2 separate regions of the Homo sapiens genome follow, and region 1 is linked to region 2. Evidence: promoter capture Hi-C in 16 types of primary human blood cells and fetal thymus (Javierre and others, 2016). All regions are on one chromosome and are shown on one strand. The core of a region is centred on a gene start or on the middle of the fragment in contact, and the rest is flanking DNA. Distances in the headings are between cores, read along the strand shown. Region 1 overlaps DNMT3B (DNA methyltransferase 3 beta). Region 2 holds the start of MYLK2 (myosin light chain kinase 2).

What was found. The method cuts DNA at HindIII sites, captures the fragments that hold promoters and counts their contacts. A CHiCAGO score of 5 or more calls a contact.
Region 1: a fragment that was not itself captured here is called in contact with the fragment with the promoter of MYLK2 in region 2 in 1 of 17 cell types (neutrophils); the score reaches 5.9 in neutrophils.

Annotation. Positions count from the first base shown.
Region 1 is chr20:32,783,364-32,790,201 of GRCh38, forward strand. It overlaps DNMT3B (DNA methyltransferase 3 beta), which reads left to right. Exons shown (of 23, transcript NM_006892.4): 4 at 1,395-1,496; 5 at 3,139-3,264; 6 at 3,867-4,088; 7 at 5,491-5,649. Among named protein-coding and RNA genes, the nearest start is that of DNMT3B, 24 kb to the left of the region's middle. RefSeq lists enhancers at 3,610-4,281, 4,282-4,952, 5,942-6,838. The HindIII fragment of the contact is 3,406 bases long and covers 11-3,416 here.
Region 2 is chr20:31,814,675-31,820,995 of GRCh38, forward strand. MYLK2 (myosin light chain kinase 2) reads left to right here and starts at 4,682. Exons shown (of 13, transcript NM_033118.4): 1 at 4,682-4,754; 2 at 4,859-4,958; 3 at 5,452-5,872. The coding sequence starts at 4,907. RefSeq lists enhancers at 1,010-1,812, 5,166-5,707. The HindIII fragment of the contact is 6,141 bases long and covers 4,148-6,321 here.

The DNA.
Region 1 (6,838 bases), core at 464-2,963, 970 kb after region 2:
TACATTATCAAGCTTTCTACTTCATTTACTTTTCCAAGGTTGGATCTTTCCCATCTTGTTTTGTGTTCCTTCCTTTACTGACACCGTCTGTTTCCTAATTATTCTTAGTAGAGTTTGTCAATTGGGTTGGTTTTGCTCAGAGCCAGTATCAGTCATAAAAGTCCTGGGCAATGAAAACTCACCCTCAGCTTCCATTCTCTTGGTGGTGGCCAACCTACTTAGGGGACTCAGAAGGTGGGGAACCTAAGCCCTGGGAGGAATTAGGGCAGCTGCAGGATCAGAGGCTCAGCACTGCTGTTTTGTTTCTGGTAGCTAGTTACCAGAAACAGTAATGAAATCTCTTGCCCACACGTTTCTTTTTGTTTGTTTGTTTTGTTTTGAGACAGAGTCTCCAGTCTGTCGCCCAGGCTGGAGTGCAATGGCACGATCTCGGCTCACTGCAACCTCCGCCTCCCAGGTTCAAGTAATTTTCCTGCCTCAGCCTCCCAAGTAGCTGGGCTTACAGGCGTGCACCACCATGCCCAGCTAACTTTTGTATTTGTATTTGTATTTTTTTTTTTTTTTGAGATGGAGTCTTACTCTTGTTCCCCAAGCTAGAGTGCGGTGGCGCGATCTCGGCTCGCTGTAACCTCCACCTCCCAGGTTTAAGCGGTACTCCTGCCTCAGCCTCCTGAGTATGAGTAGCTGGAATTACAGGCACATGCCACCATGCCCTGCTAATTTTTGTATTTTTAGTAGAGACAGGGTTTCGCCATATTGGCCAGGCTGGTCTTGAACTCCTGACCTCAGGTGATCCACCCGCGTCGGCCTCCCAAAGTGTTGGGATTACACGCCTGGCCTAATTTTTGTATTCTTAGTAGAGATGGGGTTTCACCATCTTGGCCAGGCTGGTCTGGTGACCTCAGGTGACCTCAGTCTGCCCCAGACTCCCAAAGTGTTGGGATTACAGGTATGAGCCACCACACCCTGCATATTATTTGATTCTTGATGTAACCCTGTTGTGCTATGAGGGAAGTACTGTTATTCCAATTTTAAAATGAGGGAAATGGACTCAAAGCCACACAGTTGGTGAGTGAAGGCAAGTGCTTAACACTCCAGCCAGACCTAGCTGCTCGCTGCTTCAGCTTTTGTGTTTGGCTTATGCTGGGTTTTGGTGTGAGGTGTGAGGCCTGCACGAGGAAGCCCTGATGACATGGTGCAGGTTTCATGCCATTGCTTCCGGGGCATCTGTCGTGGTTGGTCTGTGTCTGCACCCATATGCAGTGTGTTGTGATGAGTGACCCGGTCTCCCTGCCAGGCACAGGCGATCAGTCTTTCATATTGCAGGTGCCTTGTTTCTTTGACTTGCTGATACCCTGGGGTCTTCATCATGTTCATCATGTTTCCTTATAAAGGACTTGACAGGCGATGGCGACGGGGAAGATGGGGATGGCTCTGACACCCCAGTCATGCCAAAGCTCTTCCGGGAAACCAGGACTCGTTCAGAAAGCCCAGCTGTAAGTAGCCACACCTCGAGCCAAAGCACTTGTGGCCAACACTCTACATAGCATACATAGCATGCTACATACATAGCATAGCTCCTTAGGGGAGCTTTTAAGAGAAAGTGATGAAAAAATGTTTTGAAACTAGAAAATATAAGCAAGGCTCTTGGACTATTGTTGGAGGGTTTTCTTTTTTCTTTTTTTTTTTCTGAGACGGAGTCTCACTGTGTTGCCCAGGCTGGCGTGCAATGGCGTGATCTTAGCTCACTGCAACAACCTCTGCCTCCTTGGTCCAAGTGATTCTCCTGCCACAGCCTCCCAAGTAGCTGGGACTACACGCACCTACCACCACACCCGGCCAGTTTTTGTATTTTCAGTAGAGATGAAGTTTTACCATGTTGGCCAGGCTGGTCTCGAACTCTTGACCTCAGGTGATCCACCCACCTTGGCCTCCTAAAGTGCTGGGATTTCAGGTGTGAGCCACTGCGCCCGGCTGGAAGGTTTTCTCTATGTGCCATTTCTTTCAGGTGGTTTTTAAGTTCTTTCTTGTAACACTCTTGGAGGTGCCTAGGGGTGATAGAGTTTGCAGGGTGGATGGCTCAGCTGCTAATGACCTAGGGAGTCCACCATTTCTGTGGGTGGATTTTGTGCCTCAGAGTTTTGAGGTATGGCAATGGGAAGGCAGTTATTGCTTATGGTCACCCAGCCCTTTAGAGACCAGACTGACAGTTACTATCCCAGGTGTGGGTTACAGTCTTCCCTTCCCAGGATATGGTCTGTATCATCCCCTTTGTGGAGATGAGAGAAGATTCCAGCAACTTAACTGAGGTTAAACATCAACTCTTCTATGCATAATTTGGACACAGGTTCTGCAACAACCAAATTCATGCCATTTTTGACAATGAACATGGAGCCTAAGGAATTCTATTCCATCTTGATGATCTGGTGCCTTCCTGAACCCAGTAATTGGCCTTATGCTTCTTTGACATAAAAGTTTATTTTAGAGTGAACACGAATTTTTCTTTCTTTCTTTCTTTCTTTTTTTTTCTTTTTTTTTGAGATGCAGTCTCACTGTGTTGCCCAGGCTGGAGTGCAGTGACGTGATCTCAGCACACTGCAACCTCTGCCTCCCTGGTCCAAGTGATTCTCCTGCCTCAGCCTCCTGAGTAGCTGTGACTACAGGCACCCACCACCATGCCTGGCTAATTTTTGCATTTTTAGTAGAGATGGGGTTTCACCATTTTATCCAGGATGATCCTGAATTTCTGATTGCAAGTGATCTGCCCGCCTTGGCCTCCCAAAGTGCTGGGATCACAGGCATGAGCGAGCCACTGCGCTTGGCCAGATTTTTATTTTTCAATCCCAATTGGCAGGTGCCATTTCAGCTGGCCATGTCTGTCTGCTGTGACAGGCAGAGCAGGACCTGCTGGGAATTGTCGGGCATCCTAGCTGGCCACCCTACCACCTCTATTCCAAGAACTGGGGAATTCTGGCTGGACTCAGTCCAGAGTCCCACCTCATCACCTGTTCACTTCCAGTTGTCCTGAAGCTGGCTACCAGGTCTCCTTGGCCACCTGAAGGCCTAATCCTTCTGGCCCCGCCAGACCCCAGGCCTCCAGTCACCTAAGGCCCAGTGAGTGTCCTCTCTTGCTTCTAGGTCCGAACTCGAAATAACAACAGTGTCTCCAGCCGGGAGAGGCACAGGCCTTCCCCACGTTCCACCCGAGGCCGGCAGGGCCGCAACCATGTGGACGAGTCCCCCGTGGAGTTCCCGGCTACCAGGGTTGGTTCCCCAGATGCCCAGACCCCTGCCCGCAGTCTCTAACTGGGAGATATGCCTCACTCACTGCACTACTGGTTGTGGCTGGTAGATAATCTGTGTCCTTTTTTCACACTGCTTTTCAGGTTCTTGCTTTTTCTTTTCTCTCCTGGGTAAGCTTCCCGTAAGCCTGTTGGCTTCTCTCCTGGTCTGATCTCAGATGACACTCTGTTGGGAATGGAAGCTTTCCCTGTTGACTTGGTTCTTGCTCTAACTTGGAAACAAGGTAGAAAACACTGACATCCAGAACTGTCTTCTCCCTCATGTCTTCTTCACCTGTCTTGAGGCAACCCTAGCGGGTATGGCAACATTTCACTCTCTGAGAGTCCCTCGTCATTACCCATCATTTGTGCCTTTGTCATCTTTCTGTCTCTGGGACAGTTACAATGACTTTCTCCCCCCTTAAGGGATACGTGTTCCTGGAAAAGTTTCTTCAGCGGTCTCTGTTCTCTTTAACTTCAGTCTTTCCTCTTTCTTTTTGCCTAGGAGCCATATGGGGGTGCCGTTGGTCTCTGGTCACCGACATCCTTTGCTCTGGCCCAAACTATGTGTCCTTCTGTCCACAGTCCCTGAGACGGCGGGCAACAGCATCGGCAGGAACGCCATGGCCGTCCCCTCCCAGCTCTTACCTTACCATCGACCTCACAGACGACACAGAGGACACACATGGGACGCCCCAGAGCAGCAGTACCCCCTACGCCCGCCTAGCCCAGGACAGCCAGCAGGGGGGCATGGAGTCCCCGCAGGTGGAGGCAGACAGTGGAGATGGAGACAGTTCAGAGTATCAGGTATGGCCGAGAGGGGCTCCTGCCCAGGGTGACTGAGGACCCTGAACACGGGGAAAAACCAGTTACCTGCTACTGTTGGTAACAGAGCGACAACAGTTGTTAGAAGTTTCGTAATTGTAATAATTGACATGTTTGAATTCTAAGTATCTTCCATATGCACCACGGACCTTTCTTTACCTTAATCCTCTCCCAGACATAAGTCAAATGCCAGTATTTACCACGTGAATACTGTGGTTTTTCCCAACATGACATTTATGTAAGGACTGCAACTGCGTACGTTATACATTTCATGTACGCCCGTGTGAAGAGACCACCAAACAGGCTTTGTGTGAGCAATAAAGCTGTTTATTTCACCTGAGTGCAGGTGGGCTGAGTCCAAAAGAGAGTCAGCGAAGGGAGATAGGGGTGGGGCCATTTTCTAAGATTTGGGTAGGTAAAGGAAAATTACAGTCAAAGGGGGTTTGTTCTCTGGCGGGCAGGAGTGGGGGTCTCAAGGTGCTCAGTGGGGGAGTTTTTTGAGCCACGAGGAGCCAGGAAAAGGGATTTCACAAGGTAATGTCATCACTTAAGGCAAGGACCGGCCATTTATACTTCTTTTATGGTGGAATGTCATCAGTTAAGGTGGGGCAGGGCATATTCACTTCTTTTGTGATTCTTCAGTTACTTCAGGCCATCTGGGCTTAAACGTGCAAGTCACAGGGGATGCGTGCAAGTCACAGGGGATGCGATGGCTTGGCTTGGGCTCAGAGGCCTGACAATACATATTGTGATTCTGTTCATCAGAGTGCACATACTGTATATATTGTACGTATGATACCTTTGTAGACTTGCTTTTTTCTTCTATTAAGAACTAGAGTTGCCTGAGGTTCATGTCTGGATAATAAATCCAGTGGTCTGGGTCATAGCTTAATTAACCGATTCAGGTTGTTTATGCTTATTCAAGCATTGCTGCACGAAGACTCCTTACACATGTATGTATTTATGTGTTGTTAGGATCCCTTTTTTCTATGTCCATTATTACATTTTACTTTGTATAGAAGGGATCTCACTATGGTGCCCAGGCTAGTCTCAAACTCCTGGCCTCAAGCGATCCTCCTATCTCAGCCTCCTGAGTAGCTAGGACTACAGGCGTGCACCACCAAGCCCAGCTACTTTATAAATTCTTTTGTGGAAATGGAGTCTTGCTGTGTTGCCCGGGCTGGTATCCAACTCCTGGCCTCAAGCGATCCCCCTGCCTCGGTCTCCCAAAGTACTGAGAATTACAGGCATGAACCACGGTGTCTGGCTACATCTTGCATTTTATGGCAAGCTTTTTGTTGCCCTCAGGGACAGTGGAGTGGACAGGACTTGGCCCAGGATGGCCTCTCCTCACTGGGATTTCTTCATGTGGGTTTTCTTCCAGGATGGGAAGGAGTTTGGAATAGGGGACCTCGTGTGGGGAAAGATCAAGGGCTTCTCCTGGTGGCCCGCCATGGTGGTGTCTTGGAAGGCCACCTCCAAGCGACAGGCTATGTCTGGCATGCGGTGGGTCCAGTGGTTTGGCGATGGCAAGTTCTCCGAGGTGAGTCCGGGGAAGGGCAAGGGGTTCTGCAGGCCTGAGGCTGTGCCTGCCTGCCTCCCTTTGAAGACAAAGGCCTGGGATTGTATTCTGCAGATGTGTGAGCCTATGCCTTCACACTGTCTGGGAGGAAGGACAAAACTTCCTGTGTTAACCAGCTACAGCAGATTCCACTCACACGGGGGACAAAAGTGCTAGAAAGTTCTGGATCCATGGGCAGTTGGATTTTATGTTATTTCTTAGATTTATCTTTTGGGGGCAGAATCATCAGTGTGGACTCTGAGGGGCCAGGAGTGGCCACGTGAGCAAGTACCCAAAAGTGTTCAGTGGAGAAGCCTGGAAGAGACCGGAAGCATGGCCGCGGCCTCTTGTCATTTAGCCCTGGGGAGAGAAAGGCATGGAGTTGGGTTTAGGGTCACCTGGTATCAGTTGTGAAAAGGGTTTTTAGTAGAATTGGGTATTTCAGAGTCTCTTGATGATTGATTCTAGCCTTTTAAAATCTTTCTTGGTAATGACATTTAGCTGGGGAAGAGCTGTGTTGGGCATAACTAGGCTGTTTTGATTCTTACACTCTTTCAACAAAGATTTTTTTGGGGGCGGTGAGAATGGAGTCTCACTCTGTTGCCCAGACTGGAGTGCAGTGGTGCGATCTTGGCTCACTGCAACCTCCGCCTCCCAGGTTCAAACAATTCTCCTGCCTCAGCCTCCTGAGTGGCTGGGGTTACAGGCACCTGCCACCGCACCCTGCTAATATTTGCATTTTTAGTACAGACTGGGTTTCACCATGTTGGCCAGGCTGGTCTCCAACTCCTGACCTCAGATGATCCACCCGCCTCGGCCTCCCAGTGCTGGGATTACAGGCGGGAGCCACCACGCCTGGCCTCAACAAAGATTTTAATCAGACAGACCTATCCTGTGATGGTCTCTTAGAAGTAAATGTTAGTCCTACCCTCAGAGCCCTGAGAGAGGCTAAGTTAGGTGCCTAAGGTCATTGGGCAAGTTGCAGCAGAAGCAAGCCAGGCAGGATTGAAGGAAGGACTGTACATTCCTGGGATTCAGCTCAAGCAGAGATTCTGTTTTTCCCAGGAATTGAGCTACCATGGGGCCATTTGCCATGAGCTAATTGAAGTTTCCCAAGGGCTACAATAATATATTGGGTGTGGAGTCTCCTTTGTAGGAGAGCCCCTGCATG
Region 2 (6,321 bases), core at 3,432-5,931:
AATATTTTGAACAAAAAGGATCCCGCTCTATGGCTGATTTTTATTTAATTTATTTATTGAGACAGGGGCCCACCCTGTCACCCAGGCCATAGTGCAGTGACACAATCATGGCTCACTGCAGCCTCAACCTCCTGGTGTCAAGCAATCCTTCTACCTCAGCCTCCTGAGTAGCTTGGGACCACAGGTGTGCACTGCCACGCCTGGCGAATTTTTAAATTTTTTTGCAGAGATGGGGTCTCACCATGTTGCGCAGGCTGGTCGTGAACTCCTGGGCTCAAGTGATCCTCCAGCCTCGGCCTCTTAACATGCTAGGATTACAGGCATGGTTGATTTTTATAGTCTTTTTTCACCTAAAATGTAATATGCAGTGATTCTATAGCTCTCCCCCAATTTCATCTCTGTGTCCTGAAAGTGACCAGTTTAGTCCTTGTCACAGTAGAGCCCCCAGTAATTAATCTTAGCAATAAAATTCTATAACTGTGGGATGGAACAGTGTGTCAATTGCGTTTTCGGAGAAACCTATGTCCAATTTGCACACAGAACGCCCACAGACCTCTGCTTACTAGCTTGGCTGGAAGGACAGGGTCTGCTGTAAGGACAGCAACCTTACCTAGGGCTTTTCCAGAGGCCTGAGAGGTCCTGCCAAGGCCCTGGGCTCAGGGGTCCAAGGTGGGAGAGGGCGAGAGAAAACAACGTGCTAATGCAGCCTTGAGTGGCTCTCAAACAGGAGCAGAGGGAAGGCTGTGAGGGGAGTTGGCTGCTCTCTTTGGAGTCAGAAAGGTTGTTGCTCAACTCTTTGGATTTTCCATCACAGCTGGGCAGGGAGAGGGTCAGACTGGGCATGACTTCTCCGAACAGGTCCTTTTAAAGCCTCTTGGCTGAACTGATTTCCTCTCCAGAGCCAAGGAAGCAGTGCCTGGGTGAAGTTAACCCCTTCACCCCCAACACATTCTTCCAGAGCTAGGTGAGCCTGGAAGCCTAGGCTCCTGGAAGGCAGAGCTACACAGGGCAAGAGGCCTAAGGAGCCGTGAACTCTGGCTGGAGAAACCTTCCCTCTGGCCTTGTTAAATCCAACAGGCATAATTGCATCCTGCTGACCTTAATTCCCCTGGCGGGTTTAATTGGTCTTGGCATTGCCCCACTTCCTGTCCTGCCCCTGTAGAGGCAAAGAGGGTGTCTGCACAGCTGGTGCAGGGCGGGGAAGCCCCTTCTTGAGGGTGGGCAGGGGCTCTGGCAGCCCCTAGGTGGGTGGAGGAAGTTTCCCCGTGCCCCACCCCTGTGCCTCCAAGGGAGTGCTGAGAAGCTTGGGGACTCCCAGGGAGCAGCTGGCTGGAGCAGGCAGTCCCGTAGATTCGGAACCAGGCCAGACTCTCATCCCAGTGGGAGGCACTGCAGGGGAGCTGGCGGGAACAGATGAACCCTCTACCTGGGGTGTCCACGACATTATCAGGCCCCCACAGTGCTGTAGGTACTGTGCCATTGGGCACTCTTTACATGTGTGCTGGCTAAATGCTCGCAGCCATGCTGTGAGAGGGAGGCAATGGGGCAGAGCAGTTATGAGCAGAGCCTTGGGTTAGATGGGTCCAATCCCAACTCTATGACTTTGCCCTGTGACTCAGTTTTCCTGTCACATCTGTGAAATGGGGATTAAAGAGCTGACATTTATACAGCACTCGCTATGCTCACACTCACTGTTGTAATGCTTTATCTACCTCCTGGGAGGCAGATGCTCTCCTTACGGATGAGGAAACAGGTGAAGACATTGTTCCAAGCTCACAGTTACTGGTCGCAGCGCTTCATTGACAGATCTCCTAATCACTGCATGGTAGGGAGTTGTAAGACTCGAAGGAAGGATACTCATGAAGCTGCTTACCCCAGGGCCTGGTCCATTTTAGAAAGAGTTCAATAAGAGTAATTATTTGGGAATAATAATTATAACAAAAGTAGCACTAATGCCCCTGAAGTTGTCCCAGGCTGGATTTTGGTCTCATTGGGAGGTGGCTCTGGATTTGAATGTGGGTAGTTTGAAGCCATTCACTAGCTGAGTGACTGTGGGGACAAGCCACTTCCCTCTGTGAGCATCAGTTTCCACACCTTTAAAATGGTGTAACATTGGCCCCTACAGTCCCTTCTGAGGATCCAGGGAGCTGGATCTTTGGCATAGTCTGGCCTGGCCGTTGGTGGGCACTCAATAAATGACTGGTATTGATAACCACAATAATAACAAGGAGATGCCAGCAAGGTCCAGCATAGGGAGGTAACAAACTCCAGTCTGGAGCCTTCTGGTTAATCAGTTATTTACTCATCAGACACTGATGGGCAAGTCCACTCTGTGCTGGGGATGTGTTTAGCCCCTGGCCTTCAGGGGGCTCCCAGACAGTGTCAACCAATGGTGGGATCAGCTGGGGCACTGTGGGGAGGCCAGAAGCAGGGGACCCAACATTCCAAATTAAACTAAAACATGCTCTGGGCCAGATAGAGGGCCAGGAGGTCCTAATGATCCGCATTAGGACAGGAAACATTTCAACCTTTTGAATGCTGCAAGATCCACAAAGGGGTTACTCAGCAGGGAGAAGGGGGCAAGGCACAGGCTGGGACATTTTAGGAAGGGAAGAGGGCTTTGGAGTTTGAAGAACGACATTCCAAGCTCAACTCCCTTCCTTGCTGAGTGACTTTGGGCAAGCTACTGATTCCTTTAACTCTCCTCGTCCTCATGCAGAAAATGAGATGAGCGCTCCCCACAGAGTTATCATCAAGATGATGCTTAAAGGCAAGATGGCTAAAACGAATGACAGGTGCTCAGCAAGTGGAAGCTCCCTTTCTGCAGGGGACCTGGGTTCAGAGCTCAGTTCAGCCCCTTCCAAGCTGTGACTTTGAGTAAATTACATAACCTCTCCATGCCTTGGTTTCCCCATCTCTCTAGTACCTACCGCACTGGGTTCTTCTGAAGACCATTTGGGTGGATCAACATGAGAGCATGCAGAGCGAGGCCAGGCACGTGGTCAGTACCGTATAGGCATCAGCTGTTACTTTTGCTTCCTGGAAGAGGCAGACTGTTAACTGGACCTTAAAGAAGAGAAATGGAGGAGAGGAGGACCGGGCCTGGAGAGGAGGGCCAGGCAGAGCAAAAGTAGTCAAGACTGGGGAAAGAGCTCCAACTATGGTTTTTACCAGCTTATACCAAAAACCCTTGACATTTGCTCACAAAACAAAACATCCCACTCATTTTGAATAGTAGCCTGTTCACATAGTTCATGGTTCAAACAGAAAAGTCAAAGTATATACAGTGATGTCTCCTTCCCACCCTTGGGGCCCAGTTCCTTGCTTATCCTACCAAATAAATTCTTATGTGCATAAAGTGAAATATATATTATTCATATATTATTCTCCCTTTTTTTTTTGCACAAATGGATAGCACACTCTACATGCTACTTTGCATCTTGCTTTTTTTATTCCCCCCACTTTGGTGGTCACTTTTTGTCAGTTCATTAACAGCTTCCTCAATCTTTTTTTACAGGTTCCTATTTCCCCACTGCTTAGAGGGGCTGCATTCTCCCTCCTTTCTCTCATCAAGCGTTTTTCCAATGGCTTCCCATTTGACAGAGGAGCCGAGGCCATGGAGTGAAGTGACTGGTTTGCTGCAGTCAGGACCTGAACCTGGATAACCACTCTACAGCTACTTCATTTTATCTTACTTTTTAAAATATAAAGACGGGGTCTTGTTATGTTGCCCAGGCCAGTCTCCAACTCCTGGCCTCGAGTGATCCTCCTGCCTCAGCTTCCCAAAGTGTTGGGATTACAGGTGTGAACCACTGCTTCTGGCCTCTACAGCTACTTCTAATGCACCCAGGTCTGGCCAGTTCTCAAGAGCCCCCTCTGAGAAAGGCTCTGGGTGATGGAAGGCTCCTTGGATCATAGCTGTCCTCATCCTATCTCGAACACCTCAGGCTAGAGTGCCCCTCGGGCCACCCCTGTAGTGGAGCATCCTTGAAAAGACTCTCTGCCAGCCCCCTTCTTCCATGTGGGTCATGGGTGAGAACTGGATGAGCTTGGGGGAGGGGCACAGAGCACTCTCCATCTCCCATGGCTACTCAGGGCAGCCTCCGTGTCCCCAGGAGCCCAAGAAAAGGACAGTTTCAAAAGAAAAAGCTTCCAGGCCTATGGACATGTTGAGAAAGTGCCCCCGAGACAATTTCTTACCCAAAGGTGACGCAAGCAGGTCCAGATGTCGAGGCACAGAGCTAGGCACTAGGGTCAGGGAGATTATCCCTGGGACTTTGTGGCTCTAGCCAGGTTCTGGGGAGCCCCAGGAGATGTGGCACACAGGTGGGCAGACCAGGGCTCAGCCTGGGCATACTCTTGCCCTTCAGGCCTGCCTGAGTACTCCCCTTCTTCCAGGCCCCCTCTGATCCTGTCCAAGTCAGGGATACTGAGCAAGGCCTGGGGAAAGGGCTGCTCCCCCAGCGTCCCAGATACCCCTCCCTTTTCTCGCTTGTTCCAACATCATTCTCCCCCCAGTCGGGCCATGGGAAGAATGCCGTGTCCTCTGAACTGGGGCCAAGAGTGACAGGTGGCGGCAGTCCCAGCTGCATGGCCCCTGGTGTAAGAGATCCTCTCCTCCGTCCCCGCCTCCACTGCCCACACCCCTGCCTCCGCCTCTGCCCACCCGGCCCAATCCCTTACAACTGCCCAGGACTGCTCCTGAGCAGCCGCTGGGAGACAGACGGCAACCAGGTTGCCCCTCTTTGCTCCAGGTACCTCTCTCCCCTCAGTTAGCAGGCCTCGGCTTCCTGTCTCACTGCAGCCAGACGAGAGGGGAAATTGGACAGCCTGACACACTCCACTCTTGTTTCTGCAGCTAGAAAGACTTGAGTTAGACAAGCAGCAGCACACGCCTCCCTACCTCATGGCGACAGAAAATGGAGCAGTTGAGCTGGGAATTCAGAACCCATCAACAGGTGCCAAGCTGGGGCAGGAGATGGAGGGAGGAGCTTGGGAAGGGGGGTTTTGAATCCAGGACTGGGCAGGTTCCTCAGTGGGAGTTCTGTGCCCCAGCCTTGTTTGCATGGTGCACGGGGGACCCAGAAATCAGAGGAATCTCTGGCTAGGGTTGGGCTGGGTCCAGGGCCTGTATGAAGCCCTTCCTGGAGAGACCAGGAAAATGTGAAGCCACCAGGGATGGCTGCTGGGGATGCACCTAAACAGTCAGGGCAAGGATGATGGGGGCCACCAAGGCCCACCCAAAGGGCTGGAAGCCTCCCACAGAGGCCCTCCAAGGTCGTGGCAGCTCATCTCTAGGGGCCATCAAGTGGCCCCAGAGACTCAGTGGGACAAGCATTTGCAAGTTGTTGCCTGGGTGGGAACCTGGGCCCAGAGCTGGTCTCTGCCCAGCCTGGGTGAGAGGGAAGGAAAGGAGGGTGGATCCTGATGGGTGTCTCACCTCCTCTGCAGACAAGGCACCTAAAGGTCCCACAGGTGAAAGACCCCTGGCTGCAGGGAAAGACCCTGGCCCCCCAGACCCAAAGAAAGCTCCGGATCCACCCACCCTGAAGAAAGATGCCAAAGCCCCTGCCTCAGAGAAAGGGGATGGTACCCTGGCCCAACCCTCAACTAGCAGCCAAGGCCCCAAAGGAGAGGGTGACAGGGGCGGGGGGCCCGCGGAGGGCAGTGCTGGGCCCCCGGCAGCCCTGCCCCAGCAGACTGCGACACCTGAGACCAGCGTCAAGAAGCCCAAGGCTGAGCAGGGAGCCTCAGGCAGCCAGGATCCTGGAAAGCCCAGGGTGGGCAAGAAGGCAGCAGAGGGCCAAGCAGCAGCCAGGAGGGGCTCACCTGCCTTTCTGCATAGCCCCAGCTGTCCTGCCATCATCTCCAGGTGAATATCCCCTCCTGGGAGTGGGGAGGGGTCCTGTGGTTCTGTCCCTAGGGGTCCTGCTTAATTCCCTTGTCTTAGGCATGGTTATCATCACATTCAGTGCTGGGGAGTGTAGTTCTGACATTCAGTTTCCTCTGTCCTGTGAATTGCCTCTACCGCCTTGTCCCCTGCAGAAACCAGAACCCTGCCACAATTCATACAAGACTGGAGTAAGAGAGACCCTCAAAGACTGCCTAGGTTGAACATATCTTCTCTAGGCTTCTGGGGTCCGAAGTTCCCCTTACTCCATGGGCTTGGGTCTAGCCAAGGGCAGGGTTGAGATGGCAGGCAGAAAGGCTAAAGGTGTCAGGCAAAAGGCTGTGTATTTCCTAGGACATCCAGTATTTTCCTGTTCTTCTTAATATAATTATTGGTAAGATATGAAAAGATGACTAATAACCAGATTGGAG